7 separate regions of the Homo sapiens genome follow, and regions 1, 2, 4, 5, 6 and 7 are each linked to region 3. Evidence: promoter capture Hi-C in 16 types of primary human blood cells and fetal thymus (Javierre and others, 2016). All regions are on one chromosome and are shown on one strand. Each heading gives the region's core, a stretch centred on a gene start or on the middle of the fragment in contact. The rest is flanking DNA. Distances are from core to core; before and after follow the strand shown.

The links. The method cuts DNA at HindIII sites, captures the fragments that hold promoters and counts their contacts. A CHiCAGO score of 5 or more calls a contact.
Region 1: a fragment that was not itself captured here is called in contact with the fragment with the promoter of CDCA8 in region 3 in 12 of 17 cell types (fetal thymus, naive CD4 T cells, total B cells and 9 more); the score reaches 25.7 in fetal thymus.
Region 2: a fragment that was not itself captured here is called in contact with the fragment with the promoter of CDCA8 in region 3 in 10 of 17 cell types (naive CD8 T cells, total CD8 T cells, fetal thymus and 7 more); the score reaches 16.7 in naive CD8 T cells.
Region 4: a fragment that was not itself captured here is called in contact with the fragment with the promoter of CDCA8 in region 3 in 5 of 17 cell types (fetal thymus, total B cells, total CD8 T cells and 2 more); the score reaches 7.8 in fetal thymus.
Region 5: a fragment that was not itself captured here is called in contact with the fragment with the promoter of CDCA8 in region 3 in 2 of 17 cell types (fetal thymus and total CD8 T cells); the score reaches 5.6 in fetal thymus.
Region 6: a contact is called between a fragment that was not itself captured here and the fragment with the promoter of CDCA8 in region 3, in 3 of 17 cell types (fetal thymus, erythroblasts and total B cells). The highest score is 9.8, in fetal thymus.
Region 7: a contact is called between a fragment that was not itself captured here and the fragment with the promoter of CDCA8 in region 3, in 2 of 17 cell types (M2 macrophages and neutrophils). The highest score is 6.8, in M2 macrophages.

The regions. Positions count from the first base shown.
Region 1 is chr1:38,875,440-38,878,139 of GRCh38, reverse strand. It overlaps GJA9 (gap junction protein alpha 9), which reads left to right. Exons shown (of 2, transcript NM_030772.5): 2 at 1,947-2,700. The coding sequence starts at 2,042. RRAGC-DT (RRAGC divergent transcript) reads right to left here. Exons shown (of 2, transcript NR_186075.1): 2 at 1,914-2,199. All of the region lies in intron 1 of GJA9-MYCBP (GJA9-MYCBP readthrough), which reads left to right. Among named protein-coding and RNA genes, the nearest start is that of MYCBP, 3.4 kb to the right of the region's middle. The HindIII fragment of the contact is 8,897 bases long and covers 1-2,700 here.
Region 2 is chr1:36,460,139-36,462,838 of GRCh38, reverse strand. It overlaps MRPS15 (mitochondrial ribosomal protein S15), which reads left to right. Exons shown (of 8, transcript NM_031280.4): 3 at 676-751; 4 at 1,527-1,575; 5 at 2,063-2,147. Among named protein-coding and RNA genes, the nearest start is that of MRPS15, 2.9 kb to the left of the region's middle. The HindIII fragment of the contact is 974 bases long and covers 857-1,830 here.
Region 3 is chr1:37,691,186-37,693,885 of GRCh38, reverse strand. It overlaps CDCA8 (cell division cycle associated 8), which reads right to left and starts at 1,370. Exons shown (of 10, transcript NM_001256875.2): 1 at 1,102-1,370; 2 at 853-981. The coding sequence starts at 1,195. It also overlaps a transcript of AIRIM not described here. RefSeq lists enhancers at 589-1,097, 1,098-1,608, 1,647-1,836, 1,609-2,118, 2,119-2,629 and silencers at 2,067-2,236, 2,257-2,316. The HindIII fragment of the contact is 4,527 bases long and covers 1-2,700 here.
Region 4 is chr1:36,389,668-36,392,367 of GRCh38, reverse strand. LOC124904012 (a long non-coding RNA gene) reads right to left here. Exons shown (of 2, transcript XR_007065779.1): 2 at 1,630-2,700. Among named protein-coding and RNA genes, the nearest start is that of STK40, 5.1 kb to the right of the region's middle. The HindIII fragment of the contact is 1,444 bases long and covers 637-2,080 here.
Region 5 is chr1:36,442,841-36,445,540 of GRCh38, reverse strand. The region is part of intron 1 of OSCP1 (organic solute carrier partner 1); the gene reads left to right. It overlaps LOC107984940 (a long non-coding RNA gene), which reads right to left. Exons shown (of 3, transcript XR_001737976.2): 2 at 808-940. Among named protein-coding and RNA genes, the nearest start is that of OSCP1, 6.3 kb to the left of the region's middle. The HindIII fragment of the contact is 924 bases long and covers 887-1,810 here.
Region 6 is chr1:38,993,961-38,996,660 of GRCh38, reverse strand. The region is part of intron 1 of AKIRIN1 (akirin 1); the gene reads right to left. Among named protein-coding and RNA genes, the nearest start is that of AKIRIN1, 4.0 kb to the right of the region's middle. The HindIII fragment of the contact is 5,767 bases long and covers 1-2,700 here.
Region 7 is chr1:36,488,231-36,490,930 of GRCh38, reverse strand. No RefSeq gene overlaps it. Among named protein-coding and RNA genes, the nearest start is that of CSF3R, 6.7 kb to the right of the region's middle. The HindIII fragment of the contact is 3,716 bases long and covers 1-2,700 here.

The sequences.
Region 1 (2,700 bases), core at 36-2,535, 1.2 Mb before region 3:
GCCACTGCACTCTAGTCTGGGCAACAGAGTGAGACTCTGTCTCCCCCCACCAAAAAAAAAGAAAAAAAGTATACTTTTTCATAGTAAAGTATAATAAGTACTTTATACATATTCATAAATATTACTGAGATGAATTTCTGAAAATGTTCACCAATTGCCAGGAAGAAACCAGAATTTATTTCAAATTTATTTCAATTTGGATTAAAAAAACTAATCTAAATTCCTATGACAGCCAGATCTGTTTCCTCTGGTTTCACTGAATGCCATATCTTACTGAATTATCAAATGAAGCATATTCGTTTTCCTATGTGTATAAATGAGATTTAAAAATCACTGACTTTTTGACCGGGCACGGTGGCTCATGCCTGTAATCCTGGCACTTTGGGAGGCTGAGGCGGGTGGATCACGAGGTCAGGAGATCGAGATCATCCTGGCCAACATGGTGAAACCCCGTGTCTACTAAAATACAAAAAATTATCCCGGGGGGTGTTGGCAGGCGCCTGTAATCCCAGCTACTCAGGAGGATGAGGCAGGGGAATCGCTTGAACCCAGGAGGCGGAGGTTGCAATGCGCCGAGATTGCGCCACTGCACTCCAGCCTGGCGACAGAGCAAGACTCTGTCCCAAAAGAAAGAAAGAAAGAAAAAAAAATCACTGACTTTTCAAGCCAGTAATGGCATGTTGGGGAAAAAGAAATTGACTTTGTTATAACTTTTATATCAAATAATCTTAATAAATAAGGTTAAGATCAGGTTACTAGTTTTAGAAACCTTTCCAAAAGTTCTGTTGAAAAACAACAATAGGCTGGGCATGGTGGCTCACGCCTGTAATCCCAGCACTTTGGGAGGCCGAGGTGGGCAGATCACCTGAGGTCAGGAGTTCGAGACCAGCCTGGCCAACATGGAGAAACATCATCTCTACTAAAAATACAAAATTATCCGGGCATGGTGGTGCATGCCTGTAATCACAGCTACTCAGGAGGCTGAGGCAGGAGAATCGCTTGAACCCAGGAGGTGGAGGTTGCGGTGAGCTGAGATCATGCCATTGCACTCCAGCCTGGGCTACAGAGTGAGACTCCGTCTCAAAAAAAAAAAAAAAAAGAATATAATTTTAGGCCATGCGCATTGGCTCATGCCTGTAATCCCAGCACTTTGGGAGGCCGAGGTGGCCAGATCATCTGAGGTCAAGGGTTTGATCTCAGCTCACTGCAACCTCTGCCTTCCAGGTTCAAGCGATTCTCTTGCCTCAGCCTCCCGAGTAGCTGGGACTACAAGCGCCTGCCACCACGCCTGGCTAATTTTTGTATTTTTAGTAGAGGCGGGGTTTTACCATGTTGGCCAGGCTGGTCTGGAACTCCTGACCTCAAATGATCCACCCACCTTGGCCTCCCAAAGTGTTGGGATTACAGGTGTGAGCCACCCCGCCCAGCCTATATTCTTAATAGAGAATATATACACTCCTCCTCCAGGTATCATGTTTTTTTCATTGTATTGTGATGTCTAAATATAAGTGATTTTAAATTCCTGACATTTAAGTATATTATTGGTAACAGATTCACACTTTGGCCAGGTGTGGTGACCCACACCTGTAATTCCCACACTTTGGGAGGTGAAGGCAAGAGGATCACTTGAGTCTAGGAGTTTAAGACTAGCTGCAGCAATAGAGTGAGACCCTGTCTCTACAAAAAAATAAAAAAAATTATCTGGGTGTAGTTGCACACACCTGCAGTCCCAGCTACTCAGGAGGCTGAGAGGGGAGATGATCGCTTGAGTCTGGGAGGTTGAGGCTGCAGGGAGTTGTGGTTGCAACACTGTACTCCAGCCTGGGCAACAGAGGGAGACTCTGTCTCAACAAACAAACAAACAAAGAAAAAACCCCACAGCTATCTAGGGAAAAAGTAAAGCAACCAGCATATAGAAGTGACATATTGTTATATTTTCACCATAGGTTTGCTTTAAGAAATAGTGCTCCCTTCAGAATGGAAGAATTTATCTGCCTCTTATTTGATGTGGATCAGAGCTAAGATGGCTGACTAAATAAACATGGGGGACTGGAATCTCCTTGGAGATACTCTGGAGGAAGTTCACATCCACTCCACCATGATTGGAAAGATCTGGCTCACCATCCTGTTCATATTTCGAATGCTTGTTCTGGGTGTAGCAGCTGAAGATGTCTGGAATGATGAGCAGTCTGGCTTCATCTGCAATACAGAACAACCAGGCTGCAGAAATGTATGCTACGACCAGGCCTTTCCTATCTCCCTCATTAGATACTGGGTTCTGCAGGTGATATTTGTGTCTTCACCATCCCTGGTCTACATGGGCCATGCATTGTACCGACTGAGAGTTCTTGAGGAAGAGAGGCAAAGGATGAAAGCTCAGTTAAGAGTAGAACTGGAGGAGGTAGAGTTTGAAATGCCTAGGGATCGGAGGAGATTGGAGCAAGAGCTTTGTCAGCTGGAGAAAAGGAAACTAAATAAAGCTCCACTCAGAGGAACCTTGCTTTGCACTTATGTGATACACATTTTCACTCGCTCTGTGGTTGAAGTTGGATTCATGATTGGACAGTACCTTTTATATGGATTTCACTTAGAGCCGCTATTTAAGTGCCATGGCCACCCGTGTCCAAATATAATCGACTGTTTTGTCTCAAGACCAACAGAAAAGACAATATTCCTATTATTTATGCAATCTATAGCCAC
Region 2 (2,700 bases), core at 94-2,593, 1.2 Mb after region 3:
GTAGAATTTATTGCTATTAATATATTTTTAATATAATTCTTTTCTGCCTCCCTATCAGAATCAACTTGAGCTGTTACAGACAGAAGAGGCCCATTAATGTTATTTGCATAGCAGGGTCTGACTGGAGAGGATAAGTCCATCTACTCTATGCCTCTTCCTCATCTCCAAGGGATAGCAGGGGTGCACACACCAAGACTGAGGTTTTCCTGTGATCTCTACTTGGTGCTTACATTTCAGGCATCGTACAGCTAGCTGCCTTTCCTCAACCCCCTTAATTCATACATGCAGTCAGCCAGCAAGTGTTTGTTGAGTGCCTAGTCTAGGCTGAGCCATGGGCCAGACTATGGTGGATTCCAAGGGAGTCAAACTCTGTCCTATCCACAGGAGGACCCATCCTAGTGGGGGATCTGAGAACTGTAGAGCCAGATAGGTGTGTGAAAGGTGCAGGCACAGTGTAGGGTCTTGGGAAAAGCCACCTACTCGCAACATGAAATATCAAAGCAGGTGCCCACGGAGTTTGCAAAGGAGAAACTGAGCCGAGAGATATCCAGTGCTTTGCTTGAGACCCTGAATGTCCCTTCTGGAGTTGGAGAGTGGGTGAAAAGAGCCAGGTCTGGGAGGGTGGGCAGCGAGAGTTGACTCTGGGTGTTTTCTATCCCCATATTTACTTGACAGCCCAGTCTAGGCTGGATGATGACCCACCTCCCTCTACGCTGCTCAAAGACTACCAGAATGTCCCTGGAATTGAGAAGTAAGCAGGAAGAAACCTAGTAGAGGAGGCAGGGGGCCCTGGGAGGATTGTCGGGGAGTGGGGAAAGACAGTGGCTTTGAGACTTGGCTTGCTGTAGCTGAAGCTTGATCTAGAAGGAGGCAGGGGCCCAGGTGTCCAGGTGTGGTGAGGGTGGGTGGTCAGCAAGGCAGATGGCACTCATGGAGCTCGGCTACTTGGGGGTTTTTTTGTACTCTAGATGAACACCCTGTACCACTAGATTCCAAGGAGCTAACATACTTCACAGGTCTTTGTAGAAATCTCTCATCTCTTGTTCCTCACAAAAGCTGTATGTCCCCATTTTATAGATTTTCAAGCTGTCCAGTGTCATACAGTTCTAAAGGGCAGAGCTAGAGTTTGAATCCAGGGCTGACTGACACCAAAGCCAGAGGCCCTCTGCTCAGCTCCTATGCAGTGTGGTGGGAGCTGGTCAGTCCCTCCCACTGTGCAATTTAACTTGAAATGTCTCAAAACAGATTGAACCATGTTGTAGCTAAAATGGAAATCCTCTCCTTGCCCTCCCTGTGATGAGACCGGAACAGTCGAGCTGACAGCCCCAGTTTCTGTAGTTTCAGCCCAGCAAGCCAGATCCACACTGACTTTTAATCCCTGGGAAATGGCTCCCCACCTCCAGGGAGATTCATTTGCTACAGAAGGAATTTTTCAATCATCTTTGCTTTTCAAACTAAAATGAAACCAGCATTGCTTTCCTCTCTTCTCCCCCAATGTCTGTCTCATTGCTGTGGTTTATCCACAGGGTTGATGATGTCGTGAAAAGACTCTTGTCTTTGGAAATGGCCAACAAGGTGAGCAGCCTCTGCCAAGCCTCAGCCTCCCGCAGTCTTCTCCTCTGGGACTCCCTTCTACCCTGATTAGCACCCCGCATCTCATGCTTCTCCAGTCACAGCACTTAGCCCACTGTCATTCTGCCTCCATTTGTCAATATCCCTAGACAGAGCATCTTCAGGGCAGGGACACTTTTGTTCCCCCACCATACCCCTAGCACCTGACAAACAGGTGCTCAGTGAATGAATGAATGAGCATAAATGAATGAGCAAGCTTTGGGGACATTCATGCAACAAGTCATTTCCTCTGTCAGTGGCTTTGGCTTTGGGCTCACCTGGATGTGGATAGCCATGTGGTTGGTCAAGGCCACAGTGAGCAGAGTGAAGTCAGGCCCTGAGCCTTATGGCCCTAGTTGCTATAACTGTAGCCAGGGCCCTTGGGGGGAGGAGGGCTAGTTCTTAGAGGGTGGCAGACTCCACAGATTTTCTCTGTCTCTGTCTTCAACAGAAGGAGATGCTAAAAATCAAGCAAGAACAGTTTATGAAGAAGATTGTTGCAAACCCAGAGGACACCAGATCCCTGGAGGCTCGAAGTTGGTCGGGGACCCTTGGGGAGTGGGGGTGTAGGGAAGCCTGCTAGCTGGGACCTGATCTAGGGCTCTTGTCTACAAGCACATGCACATGGGCTGGGGAAAGGGAGAGACATGAAGGACCTAGGGCAATGAAAATTGGACCCTGTATCCCAAGCTCTGATGCTGGAGTCAACACCCAGTTGGACCTTGTACCACTGTGTGAGCTTGGGTAAGTCACCAACCCTCTCTTGGAGCCCCTGCTTCCTCATCTGGAAATGGGGGAATAAGGGAGAGCAGAGCAGAGGTAATGTTACCCACCTCATGGCAGCATTGTGAGAGGCAGCTAGGGGATGTAAACACACCTTGGAAACTAAAGCTCACGATGTGTGATAATAATAGTAAGACTAGGCCAGGCGCGGTGGCTCACGCCTGTAATCCCAGCACTTTGGGAGGCCAAGCAGGTGGATCACAAGGTCAGGAGATCAAGACCATCCTGGCTAACACGGTGAAACCCCGTCTCTACTAAAAATACAAAAAATTAGCCGGGCATGGTGGCGGGCGCCTGTAGTCCTAG
Region 3 (2,700 bases), core at 121-2,620:
GATTACAGGCGTGAGCCACCACGCCCAGCCTGATGCGCCCATTTTTAGGTTAGCAATTTCCATAAGCTGCAGAAGGAGCTGCTTCGGGTTATTCTTCTATCTGAGCTCTGGTTAACTAACCATGTCATTTATTCATTCATTTTTAAATGGGTAAAATATACATATATTTTTAAAAATACTATTTTCTGGCCGGGCGCAGTGGCTGACTCCTGTAATCCCAGCACTTTGGGAGGCCTATGTAGGTGGATCACTTGAGGTCAGGAGTTCGAGACCAGCCTGGCCAACATGGTGAAACCCCGTCTCTACTGAAAATACAAAAATCAGCGGGGCATGGTGGCAGGCGACCGTAATCCCAGCCACTCCAGAGGCTGAGGCAGGAGAATCACTTGAACCCAGAAGGTGGAGGTTGCAGTGAGCAGGGATCGCACCACTGCACTGCACTGCACTCCAGCCTGGGTGACAGAGTGAGACTCTGTTTAAAAAAAATTAAATAAATTTCCTGATGTGTGAAAATTATGTGAAATTCACATTTCAGTGTATCCATAACTAAAATTTTATTGGAATACAGCCCATCCATGCCCATTCACTACAGCTGTTTTGGACCTGTAAACAGCAGAGCTGAGTTGTCCGACAGAGACCGCCCCGCCCGCCGCCCCCCAACCACCCCCCCATTTTTCATAGAGAAAAATGAAGTAGGGAAGTGAGACAGAGAGTGAAAGGGTCTGCAATTTTCCATAAGTGGTCATGTCAGATCTCATTAAAAGGTGACATCTGAGCGAGCCCTTTCTGAAGGGTGTCACCTAACCCCAAGGGGCTCCTGGCCTCCGCCCAGGGAAGCTCTCCAGCTCTTACCGAAGTAGTCAAGCCAGTTCATCTCGCGCAGAGCCTTGGGGAGCCGCAGGATCTCGATGTTGTAGAGGTTATCCACCTCCTTGAGGAGGTTCTGCCTGTCTGACTCAATTTGCTTGATTCGTATTTCCACTGCGGGAGGGCAGAGCCGACAGGACACGGGTCACGGGCGGGCGAATCTGTGCAGCTCGTGTCCCCACCCGCCAGCATCCCGCGACCGCCCCAGGAGGCCGCGACGGCCTGGCCCCTTACCTTCACGGTCGAAGTCTTTCAGAAAGGAGGCGAGCTTCCGCCTCCGTAAGGAGTTGGTCTTGGCCACCCGACTACTGCCCTTCCTAGGAGCCATGGCGCTCGGCGGAGGCTGCGGGGAGCGGCGGAGATGGGGCAGGGAAGCAAGAAACTGGGTAGGGACGAGGAGGGCGGACGGGGACCACCCGAAGAAGTCGCCAGGCACGTACCTGCGGTCCCGAGACAAGGGCTGAGCAAAACCTCGCTGTGCCAGTGAGAGAGAGCGGCTCTACAGTCAACCGCCACCCAATTCAAACTCCACAGTCACAGGCTGACGAATGAGAAGCCGCCGTCCCACAACATCCAATCACAAGCAAGTTCCTGCCGGCCCAGGGTCTTCCGCCCAATGCGCCCCCTATAGCCTGAGTGCGACAGCGAGGCCGCCGCCGTCGCGGGTACTCCTGGGAGTTGTGGTCCAGGCTTGTTTCCCCGCCCTCCCCACCAACCCACCCGGCTCCGCCCTGGCCGGCTGCGAACTATACAAACTACTACTCCCGGCAGGCCTTGTGGCGGCTCTGCAATACCCCAAGCTCTGGAGGGCTGGGGGCCTACTAGGTCAGGTCGGCTGTAGGATTCTGCTCCAGGGTTGGCGGCTGCTTCTTTCTGGCCTGGCTGCCACTGAGTAGCCGAGGGGCCGCCGTGACCCTCTGACTGATTGACTGGCTGGCTGCCTACGTCGGCGCTCCTCAGGGCCCCAAGCTCCTCAGGCCGAACTTCGGGCAAGTGGCGGGTCGGCAGAGACAGAGCAGCCCCGGCAGGGTTTGACAGAGCAAGGGGGACGGAATGATAGAGGAGCAGGGCAGGGGTGCAGGCTTTGGGGGGGGCGCGCTATCCCGCGGCCAGTCTGGGCAGCGAGTGGGGGGAACCCTGTCGTTCCTCGCTCCCCCGCGGGCCGGCCACTCCCGCCCAGTTCGCGTGTTGGCGCCTCGACTGGGTGCGCAGCGCGGGGCTGCGACTTCAGGTGCAAGTAGTGGCGCTTGGCAGCTGGCCACACGGTGACTGCAGCATGAGCCGCGGCCACCAGGCTCCAGGGAGCCCAGGGCAGGAGGCAGCTCTGGGTGTCGTGGCCGTGGGCCTGGGAATGGGCGTGTAGACGGCGAGCCCCGCCGAGCCGCGGTCCTGTCGGAGGTGCTAACTGTGCATCTTGGTATCTGCCCACGGCCACAGGGTTGGATTGCTCAAGAGTTGTGCTGAGACCCAGAAGGCTAGAGGCTAGTTTCGAAGCTGTAGCTCAGGCTGAGTCTCAAGGCGGGCGGCGACTGGACGGCCAGACCGGCGAGCTCTTGACGGGTTTGTGGCCTGATTGTTTGGATTTGGTGCTTTTCACCTGTGGATGCGGTCTGAAGCCATGTCAGAGGGGTTGTGTTTAAGCGTGCATGTTATAGGCTATGGGAGTGATAATCTTGCCTCTCCCCCTCTGAGTTGAGGAACAATCGAAGAAATAAGCAAAGGTGCCAAGCAGGCTCCTGATGGGCACCAGCGAGCTTGGGGACAGAGCAGTCCAAGCATAGAAGTCCTGGCAAGCCTGGACCTTCCTGGAAAGTCCTTTCTCTCTCTTCCACC
Region 4 (2,700 bases), core at 109-2,608, 1.3 Mb after region 3:
ACATTATCAGGTGAGATTTGAACCTTTTTGCATCGGAGCTTATATCCTAGTGGGGGAGGTGGTCAAAGAAAACAAAGATGAGGCTGAACACAGTGGTTCACGCCTGTAATCTCAGTATTTTGGGAGGCTGAGGCTGATGGATCACTTGAGGCCAGGAGTTTGTGACCAGCCTGGCCAACATGGTGAAACACCATCTCTACTGAAAATAGAACAATTAGCCGGGCGTGGTGGCATGCGCTTGTAGTCCCAGCTACCCAGGAGGCTGAGGCACAAGAATTGCTTGAACCCAGGAGGCAGAGGTTGCAGTGAGCCAAGATCACGCCATGGCACTGTAGCCTGGGCAACAGAGTGAGACTGTCTCAAAAAAAAAAAAAAAAAAAAAAAAACCAAAGATGAAATCCAGCTTGAGAACTGCTGTGGCAGAGAGTTTTGAATAAAGCAGGGCCCCTGACCTTAAGATGCTACCATTCTTGAGGGAGATTTGAGAGGAATGTTCATGTGGACGTTAGCAGCCCAAGGGCACTGCATTCACATTCGAGTTCAGTCTGTGTCAGGTGTTGTCTGCAGACCACCTCATCAGGACCAACTGGGATGTGTGTAGGAAATGCACTTACCTGGCTCCTCCTTACCCAAGCTTGAATTGGAGTCTAGCACCCAGGAATCTGCATTCACATCCACCCATCCACCGTGATTCTTTTGCATACTGTATTTATTTTATTGCCTACAGGTCTAGAATCCCCTTAACTCTGCCCTTTGCCTTCAGGGAGAACGGAGGGTCCTAGCAGAGAAAACTTCTGAATTTTCCGGCCCCTCTGACAACTGGAGTTAAGAGGACTGACTGACACCACAAAGTGACTGCTGGAAAGAGAAACCAGAGGGCAGGTGCAGAGGGAAGGCCTTCGCTGTGGGAACGTCACCATACCCTCGCAAGTGGGGAGAGAGATGAGGAACTGGTGGGAGTCCCACAGCAGCTTCCCTTGCAGACCTCTCCCACATGTGTGCCCGTGTGTGAGAAATGGAAGAGGGCTTAGCTGGGGGTTCGGCTTAGGGATGCAGGAAAGGTCGAGCTCTGAGGCTGTGATGGCACACCAAGGGCTTCTCCGTCCTCAGCAGAGCAGCAAGGGAAGCAGTAAGGCTAGTGTGGGTTGCTGAGAAGACAGGCTCAAGACATGTTCCTTAAGTGTCATGTGCCAGACCCCAGTGGCCCTCTGTCATTCCTAGGCAAGGTCTTGGGAAGACAGATGATAATGAGGGGAACCAGGCCCTGCAGAGACACATTTTTGCCAAGCCCCTCGGTTAGAGCACAGCTGAGACTTTAAACCCCAAAGGTGGGTCTTTTGTAATCTGGTCTTGGCTTGCTGGAAAAGGCTATCAGGGGCCCAGGAAGGGGTTGAGAGAGCCCAGTGCCCACCAGCCTGTGGGAAGCCAGGAACTCCCCAACTGCCACTGGTCAGCCATTCCACAGGTCATTCTTGAGCACCAGCTATGTACCAGGCACAGTGGTAGCAACTGGGGAACATCAAGATGAACAAGGGTCTTGCCTCAGGAAGTGAACATTCTAGTGAGGGAAACAGATAAACTAAAAAAGTAAAAATATTTACAGGTGCCCTGAAGGAAATAAACAGGGCCTTTTGAGAGACAATAACAGGTAGTTTTATTTTGGAAAATGTAGTCTGAGGAAGTGAAATCTTTTTTTTTTAGACAGGGAGTCTTGCTCTGTTGCCCAGGCAAGAGAGCAGTGGTGCGATCATGGCTCACTGCAGCTTTGAACTCCTGGGCTCAAGCCTCAGCCTTCCAAGTAGCTGGAACTACAGGTGCATGCCACCACACACCTGTGGTGTCTTAATTTCGTAACTTTTTTTTTTTTCCCTAAGAGACAGGGTATCACTATGTTGTCCAGGCTGGTCTCAAACTTCTGGCCTCAAGCAATCCTCCTGCCTTGGCCCCAGTCACTGGGATTAAGGGCTTGAGCCACCCCACCCAGCAGGAAAGTAGTTAAACTGAGAAGAAGCCTGTCATTTAAAAAGCCAGGACAAGGCAGAGGAAACTGCCTGTGCAAAGGTCCTGGGATGGGAAAGCTTGGGGATTTGGGACAATAATAGTAACACTGTGGCTATTGGGGGAGAGGGAGGCAGATGAGAGTGGAGAAATGGGAGGGGGTGGGGCATATGACACAAGGCCTGTGGACAGAGTGTAGCTGGTTCCAGTTTCTGGTGTGCAAGAAACAGAACTTGAATTTTCTTTAACTCACTTGAATTCCTGTATTTTGCCCTACTCAGCCAGAGTGGCAGAAAGTTAATTGCGGTCAATTCACAGTTCCCCCATTTTCCTTGGCATTCTGTTGGAATTCTAGGGCTCTTCCTTTCAAGGTGCCAAAGCATGGGAAGCATAGTCTGATTTGGTCATCCAGTCACACTAGCATCCACTGAGATGTTCTCATCTGGTTGTGACCTTTTGTCATCAGCCCATGAAGGTTGCTGCTGAGTTGCTCCCCATCCCCCCACCAAAAGACCCCTCCAAGTGTAACCCATACCCCTCTCAGGTGTGCAGAGTTTTGTTTTGTTTTGTTTTGTTTTTCTGCTTTCCCCAGGCCATGTTAGGCCTAGGAAATTCTTGAGTCTTAGGTGAGTTAGGCCCTGTTTGTCCAAAATGCAGCATGCAGCCATTTCTCCAGAGGGTTTTGTGACTTCCCTGGTGCCC
Region 5 (2,700 bases), core at 99-2,598, 1.2 Mb after region 3:
CAGCCGGTTAGGACATGGCACTGGCCATGCTTTCAGACTGCTCTCTTGGGAGCTTTTGGTATTATGTATTGAAGCCATGTGTATACTTTGATTATAACTTCAGAAATCACCCCTAATACCACAATCTAGTGGCAAATGTTTCCAAAAGAAACTATTAATTACAAAATGGTTTTGGGGTTTTTGTTTGTTTGTTTTTGTTTTTTGAGATGGAGTGTTGCTCTGTCGCCCAGTGGCGTAGTCTCCACTCACTGCAACCTTCACCTCCTGGGTTCAAGCAATCCTCCTGCTTCAGCCTCCCAAGTAGCTGAGACTATAGGTGTGCACCACCACACCCAGCTAATTTTTGTATTTTTTGTAGAGATGAGGTTTCACCATGTTGGCCAGGCTGGTCTCGAACTCCTGACCTCAGGTGATCCGCCCATCTTGGCCTCCCAAAGTTCTGGGATTACAGGCATGAGCCACTGTGCCTCGCCAAAATGTTTTTGAAATACAGATGTGTATAGAACTTTTTTATCTAGGGGTGGTTCTTCTAGATTGAAATCTCCATCAAAAATTAAGGAAAGGAAAAAAGTCATCTTCCATCCTTTATGGGTGGTGTCTAATGTCCCTCAGTAGAGGAAACAGAACTCAAAGGGAAGCCAGCTAAGTATTTGATGTGTGTTATGCTTTATCCCCACAATAGGCCTGTAAGATAGGTGCTATTATGATCCCTATTTTACGAAGGAAACTGAGGTTAAACAAGTTGCTTGAAGTTTATATAGCCAGTAAGTAGAGCCAGGTTTCAACCCATAGAGTCTTGATTCTCACCGATTTCTCTAGCCAACTGCATTTTTCCTTATTTGGTCTCCTCTTGGGATCTCCCCAGCTGCCTTTGTCCTCAGAAGCTTTCTTCATAGTGGTCCCATCATTATTCGCTTCTTTTTACATGGAAATCATGCATCTATATATATAAAAAGTAAAACAGAAACAAATGCTGACATTTTCCTTTTAATTCACATTTCAAGTTTTCTAATTTGAGCAGTTCCATCTGTCCTCTAGAAAGGGAAATCTTACATTAATAAAAAAAAAAGAAAAGAAAAGAAAACTCAGATTGTATACAAAGAAACTCTTTTCTCTGCCTGTTCTTGGAATTATTCTTCCTCATGGAGGCTAGCGTCTTTAAAAGCCTACTACTGAATGATATGTATTCTTGTAGCATTAGAGAGCGGGGCTTCTTGGGCCTTTCAAGATGAACCACAGGATAGCTAATCCTCCTCAGTTTACTCTCTTCTTAGGCCAGTCTCTGTAAGACATAGCCTTTCTTGAGCTTTTTTGAAATATGTTGTTTATCCATCATCCTTTTAAAGGTTTCAAATAGAAGGCAGTGTGCTCACATTAGACATTAAATGCCAACGTGAAAAGTAAAGTTTCATAGATAAGATCATTGGAATTGGTATGTTTAAAGCCTCCTTGAAAATAATGTTCTTGCTTCATGAACTGGTGTTTTCTTTTTGTATGCTTCATGTAGATGAATGGACAGAGGTGGACAGAAAACGAGGTATGCTATCTCCGGGCTGCATGTGTTCAGTGTGCATCCACAGGTTCACTCAGGCCTTTATCAGCAGGGCTTAAAATGGGACCGCTTGAAACATTTCAAAGTCAAAGTAAGAAAATAGGCATGAGTTTGTCTTTAGCTGAGATATTGGTTATACATTTGAATCTTTTACTTAAGAGGAAGAAATACAGCATGTTAAGATGAAAACTAAGCAAACTCTGACCAAAAAGCCACACTGTACTTGAGGGATATGTCTCCTTTTCTCAGTTCCAAGCTTTGCTGGGACAGCTGGGGCAATAGCCATACTTTGGGGTATGTCATCCTATTTGGTAGTCCTTAAAACAACTTTGTTTTGTCATGTAACCAAAGAATTGTGCTTCAACATGAGTGACCCTCCCTGAGCCATTCTCCTAAGCTCACAGAGCAACCGAGAAAAATTGAAGCATGTAACTGCATGGCTGCCAGGACTGTGGGCAGAAGGCATGACATCATGCATGCAGTGTGGCCTCATCATGCAAAAGCTTCAGTTTCCCCTTACCTACTGCAAGCAGGAAACCTGAAAAAGTTGTCGACTCCTCAGAATAAAGCCTTAGACTTTCTCAGCCTTTAAATAAATCTCAGATACCTTCTGTCATTTGACATTTGGGTGTGGTGTGTGCCTATCATCAGCCATCCTCCTCAATATTTTAAATGCTCTCACCACACCAAGTATGCTGGGAAGACAACCTGTATAATATTTAAGAGGCCAGGTGCAGTGGCTCACACCTGTAATCCCAGCACTTTGGGAATCTGAGGCAGGAGGATCACTTGAGGTCAGGAGTTCGAGGCCAGCCTGGCCAACATGGTGAAACCCTGTCTCTACTAAAAATACAAAAATTACCTGGGCATGGTGGTGGGCACTTATAATCCCAGCTACTTGGGAGACTGAGGCAGGAGAATCACTTGAACCTGGGAGGCAGAGGTTGCAGTGAGCCGAGATCTTGCCACTGCACTCCAGCCTGGGCGACAGAGCGAGACTCCACTTCAAAAATAATAATAATAATAATAATATTTAAAAGCACAGGCATTAAATCAAACAGACCTAATTCTAATTTCAGCTCCATCACCAGCTGTGTGACCTTGGACTTTAAACTCTCTGATTCAGTTTTCCTCCTTAATAGAATGAG
Region 6 (2,700 bases), core at 43-2,542, 1.3 Mb before region 3:
CTACTCAGGAAGCTGAGGCAGGAGAATCTCTTGAACCGGGGAGGTGGAGGTTGCACTGAGCCGAGATTGTGCCACTGCACTCCAGCCTGGGAAACACAATCAAGACTCTGCCTCAAAAAAAAAATAGAAAAACAAAACAAAAAAACAAGAGTGCTATGGGCCAGGCACTGTGGCTCATGCCTGTAATCCAGCACTTTGGAAGGCCAAGGTGGGAGGATCACTTGAGGCCAGCCTGGGCAACATAACGAGACCCAGTATTAAAAAAAAGAAAAAAAGCCTGTACATGGTGGCTCACGCCTGTAATCCCAGCACTTTGGGAGGCCTAGGCAGGTGGATCACCTGAGGTTCGAGACCAGCCTGACCAACATGGCGAAACCATCTCTACTAAAAATACAAAAATTAGCTGGGCATGGTGGTGCGCACCTGTAATCCCAGCTACTTGGGAGGCTGAGGCAGGAGAATTGCTTCAACCCAGGAGGTGGAGATTGCAGTGAGCCGAGATCACCCCATTGGACTCCAGCCTGGGCAACAGAGTAAGACACTGTCTCAAAAAACAAAACAAAACAGTGCTATGAAGTTTGTATTTTAGATTCCTGAATTTATTAAGTTTTCACCTCACTTTATTTTTTAAGAGAGTCTTACCCTGTCGCCCAGGCTGTAGTGCAATAGCACAATCTCAGTTCACTGCAACCTCTACCTCCCAGGTTCAAGCAATTCTCCTGCCTCAGCCTCCAGAGTAGTTTGGATTTCAGGAGCCCGCCACCACACCCACCTAATTTTTTGTATTTTTAGTAGAGACAGAGTTTCACAATGTTGGCCAGGCTGGTCTCAAACTCCTGACCTCAGCTGATCCGCCCGCCTCGGCCTCCCAAAGTGCTGGGAATACAGGCGTGAGCCACCGCTAGCCCCCTGTATTTTAAGATGTCTTATTCCTCAAGCCAGAGCCAATACAAGGATAAGAACTGCAAATACTTGAAACAAGAAAGGACAAGTATGAGGACAACGCTTAAGAGAACAGAAGGTCTTTGATAAACCTCTGCCTCCTGTATGGCAATGTTAACAAATGGAAAGATACAATTTTGAGGGTGGTAGGACTAAGAAGTCCAAGAATCTAAACACGGTATCCATGGGAGAAAAATAAGAAAGTTAGACATGATTTTCTTCTGTAGAAGGCCATATAAAGCACAAAATTTTTTTAAAAAGAAAAACTCAAATTTCTTTTTAACAGTGGATAATTTTAATCCTTCCCTCCATTACTTGAGGTTGTGCTGCCAGATTTTTTCCGGTCTAAGCCCATCCTCCAAACTCTACAGTGTTCCTACTGCTACAAACCAAAATTCAAACTCTTGAACATGGCAGTCAATACTTTCCAAGATGTGGCCTCAATTTATTTTCCTGGTTCCATCTGGATTCCACTATAATTTAGTTACATTACATTATTCTCTCCTTAAATTGTGGGTTTTTTGGACTTTGCTCTCATGGTTTCCCTGTGCTCGAAATGGGACTATTGCTCAAACTTGATCAAGACTCAGCTAGCCAGGCGCAGTGGCTCATGCAATCCCAGCACTTTGGGAGGCCGAGGCGGGCAGATCACCTGAGGTCAGGAGTTTGAGACCAGCTTGGCCAATACAGTGAAACCCTGTCTTGACAAAAAAAATACAAAAATTAGTAGGCCGGGTGTGGTGGCTCATGCCTGTAATCCCAGCACTTTGGGAGTCTGAGGCAGGCGGATCACCTGAGGTCAGGTGTTTGAGACCAGCCTGACCAGTATGATGAAACCCTATCTCCACTAAAAATACAAAAATTAGCTGAGAATGGTGGCATGCGCCTGTAATCCCAGCGTTCTGGGAGGCTAAGGCAGGAGAATCGCTTGAGTCTGGGAGGTGGAAGTTGCAGTGAGCCGAGATCATGCTACTGCACTCCAGCCTGGGCAACAAGAGCGAAACGTCATCTCAAAAAAAAAAAAAAAAAAAAAAAAAAAAAAAAAATTAGCCGAGCGTAGTGACACATGCCTGTAATCCCAGCCACTGGGGAGGCTGAGGCAGGAGAATCGCTTGAACATGGGAGACGGCGGTTGCAGTGAGCCAAGATCGTGCCACTACACTCCAGCCTGGGCAACAGAGTGACTCTGTCTCAAAAAACAACAAAAAAAGACTCAGCTAAAATGCTACCTTAATTCAGAAGTTATTCTCAGACTCTCAAGTCATAATCAGTTAATTGCTTTGCACATTACGTTTACAAATATTTCCTGCGGTCAGCAACCCCCTTCTTCCATGTCTGGAATTCACCTAGCACTCAATAAAGATTTAAGCAATAAAAGGCTTAGTTTTACAGGACCTTTCCACAAAAAGTACCATACAGATTGAGCATCCCTCATCCAAAATGCTTGAGACAGAAGTTTTGGATTGTGGAATAGTTGCATTATACTTACCAATTGAACATCCCTTACCCCAAATGAGAAAAACTCCAGTGAATAAGTATTTCCTTTGAGTGTCATATTGACACTCAATTTTTGGATCAGTTCAGACTTTGCAGCATTTCGGATTTCAGAAAAATTGCCCAGCTAATTTTTTAGCTTTTTTTTTTTTTTGAGATGGAGTTTCACTCTTGTCACCCAGGATGGAGTGCAATGGCCGGATCTCGGCTTACCGCAATCTCCGCCTCCCAGGTTCAAGCGATTCTCCTGCCTCAACCTCCCGA
Region 7 (2,700 bases), core at 125-2,624, 1.2 Mb after region 3:
GAACAACATCTTACTAAAAAGAAGAGCCCATATGAAGGAAAACTGATTTGGTGGAAAGACAACAAAAATAAGACATGGGAAATAGGGAAGGTGGTAACGTAAGGGAGAGGTTTTGCTTGTGTTTCACCAGGAGAAAATCAGCTTCCTGTTTGGATACCCACTAGACATTTGAAGTTCTACAATGAACCCATTGGAGATGCAAAGAAAAGCGCCTCCACGGAGACGGAGACACTGCAATCAAGCACCATCAACTCACAAGATGAACAGAATGGTGATGTCAGAAGAACAGATGAAGTTGCCATCCACCAAGAAGGTGGAGGCGCCGACTTGGGCACAATTAAAGAAGCTGACACAGTTAACTAAAAAAAAAAAAGCCTAGAGAACACAAAGGTGACACAAACTCCAGAGAACATGCTGCTTGCAGCTTTGATGATTGTATCAACTGTGGTAAGTCTCCCCATGCCTGCAGGAGCAGCTGCAGCTAATTATACCTACTGGGCCTATGTGCCTTTCCCGCCCTTAATTCAGGCAGTCACATGGATGGATAATCCTGATGGGAGATAGGCTCATGAGCCTAGAACATCGTTTCCAGTTACAGTGTGACTGGGATACATCAGATTTTTGTATTACACCCCGAGTTTATAATGAGTCTGAGCATCACTGGGACATGGTTAGACGCCATCTGCAGGGAAGAGAAGATAATCCCACTTTAGACATTTCCAAATTAAAAGAACAAATTTTCGAAGCATCAAAAGCCCATTTAAATTTGGTACCAGGAACTGAGGTAATCGCGGGAGTTGCTGATGGCCTCACAAATCTTAACCCTGTCACGTGGGTTAAGACCATCGGAAGTACTACTATTGTAAATTTCATATTAATCCTTCCCCAGAGGCAGGCCCCAGTCTGCAGGTGTACCCAGCAGCTCCGAAGAGACAGCGACCATCGAGAACAAGCCATGATGACAATGGTGTTTTTGTCTAAAAGAAAAGGGGAAAATGTTGGGAAAAGAAAGAGAGATCAGACTGTTACTGTGTCTATGTAGAAAGAGGTAGACATAACAGACTCCATTTTGTTCTGTACTAAGAAAAATTCTTCTGCCTTGAGATGCTGTTAATCTGTAACCCTACCCCCAACCCTGTGCTCACAGAAACATGTGCTGTGTCGACTCAAGGTTTAATGGATTTAGGGCTATGCAGGATGCACTTTGTTAAACAAATGCTTGAAGGCAGCATGCTTGTTAAAAGTCATCACCACTCCCTAATCTCAAGTACCCAGGGACACAAAACACTGCAGAAGGCCACAGTGACCTCTGCCTAGGAAAGCCAGGTATTGTCCAAGGGTTCTCCCCATGTGATAGTCTGAAATATGGCCTCGTGGGAAGGGAAAGACCTGAGCGTCCCCCAGCCCGACACCTGTAAAGGGTCTGTGCTGAGGAGGATTAGTAAAAGAGGAAGGCCTCTTTGCAGTTGAGATAAGAGGAAGACATCTGTCTCCTGCTCCTCCCTGGGCAATGGAATGTCTCGGTGTAAAACCCGATTGTATGTTCCATCTACTGAGATAGGAGAAAACCGCCTTAAGGCTGGAGGTGAGACATGCTGGTGGCAATACTGCTCTTTAATGCATTGAGATGTTTATGTATGTGCACATCAAAGCTCAGCACCTTTTTCTTAACCTTATTTATGATACAGAGACATTTGTTCACATGTTTTCCTGCTGACCCTCTCCCCACTATTACCCTACTGTCCTGCCACAACCCCCTCTCAGAGATGGTAGAGATAATGATCAATAAATACTGAGGGAACTCAGAGACCCGTGCCTTCGCGGGTCCTCTGGAGCACCAGTCCCCTGGGCCCACTTTTCCTTCTCTATACTTTGTTTCTGTGTCTCTCTCTTTTGTCAGTCCGATGAGAAACACCCACAGGTGTGGAGGGGCAGGCCACCCCTTCAGGGTCTGGTTTTGAAGGGCCTCAAAGGACATGAGGAAGACTTAGAAATTTAGCCCATGGACAGCGAGGAACCAATGGATGGATGCCTTTTTTTTTTATTTTTTGAAGGAGTTTTGCTTTTGTCACCCACACTGGAGTGCAGTGGCATGGTCTCAGCTCACTGCAACCTCCACCTCCCGGGTTCAAGTGACTCTCCTGCCTCAGCCTCCCGAATAGCTGGGATTACGGGTGCCCACCACCACGCCTGGCTAATTTTTGTATTTTTAGTAGAGATGGGGTTTCACCATGTTGGCCAGGCTGGTCTCGAACTCCTGACCTCAGGTGATCCACCTGCCTTGGCCTCCCAAAGTGCTGGGATTACAGGCATGAGCCACAGCGTCCAGCCAATTTTCTGTTGGGTGGTGACATACTGGAATTCACAATTTGGAAGAAGCACTCCAGCTAAGTATAGCAAGGGTGTATCCCAGGAATGAAGGCAGGGAGACCAGGAGGAAGCCGAGACGTCATCCAAGGAGACAACAATGATGGACTGGCTTCCTGCAGGGGCCATAAGGTGGGAGAGAAGGGACAAATCGCACTGGAAGGAGCGACAGACTGGATGTAGGGGGTGACCAGCAGGGAGGTGTTCAGGACCAGTTTAAGTTTCTGGATTCACCAGGACAGAAAAGCAGGTTTTTAGGAGAAAACATGGAGGAGCTCAGCTGGGAGGCGTGTTTAGTTTTGATGTGTGTGGAGCTTCAAGGGGAGCTGGGGG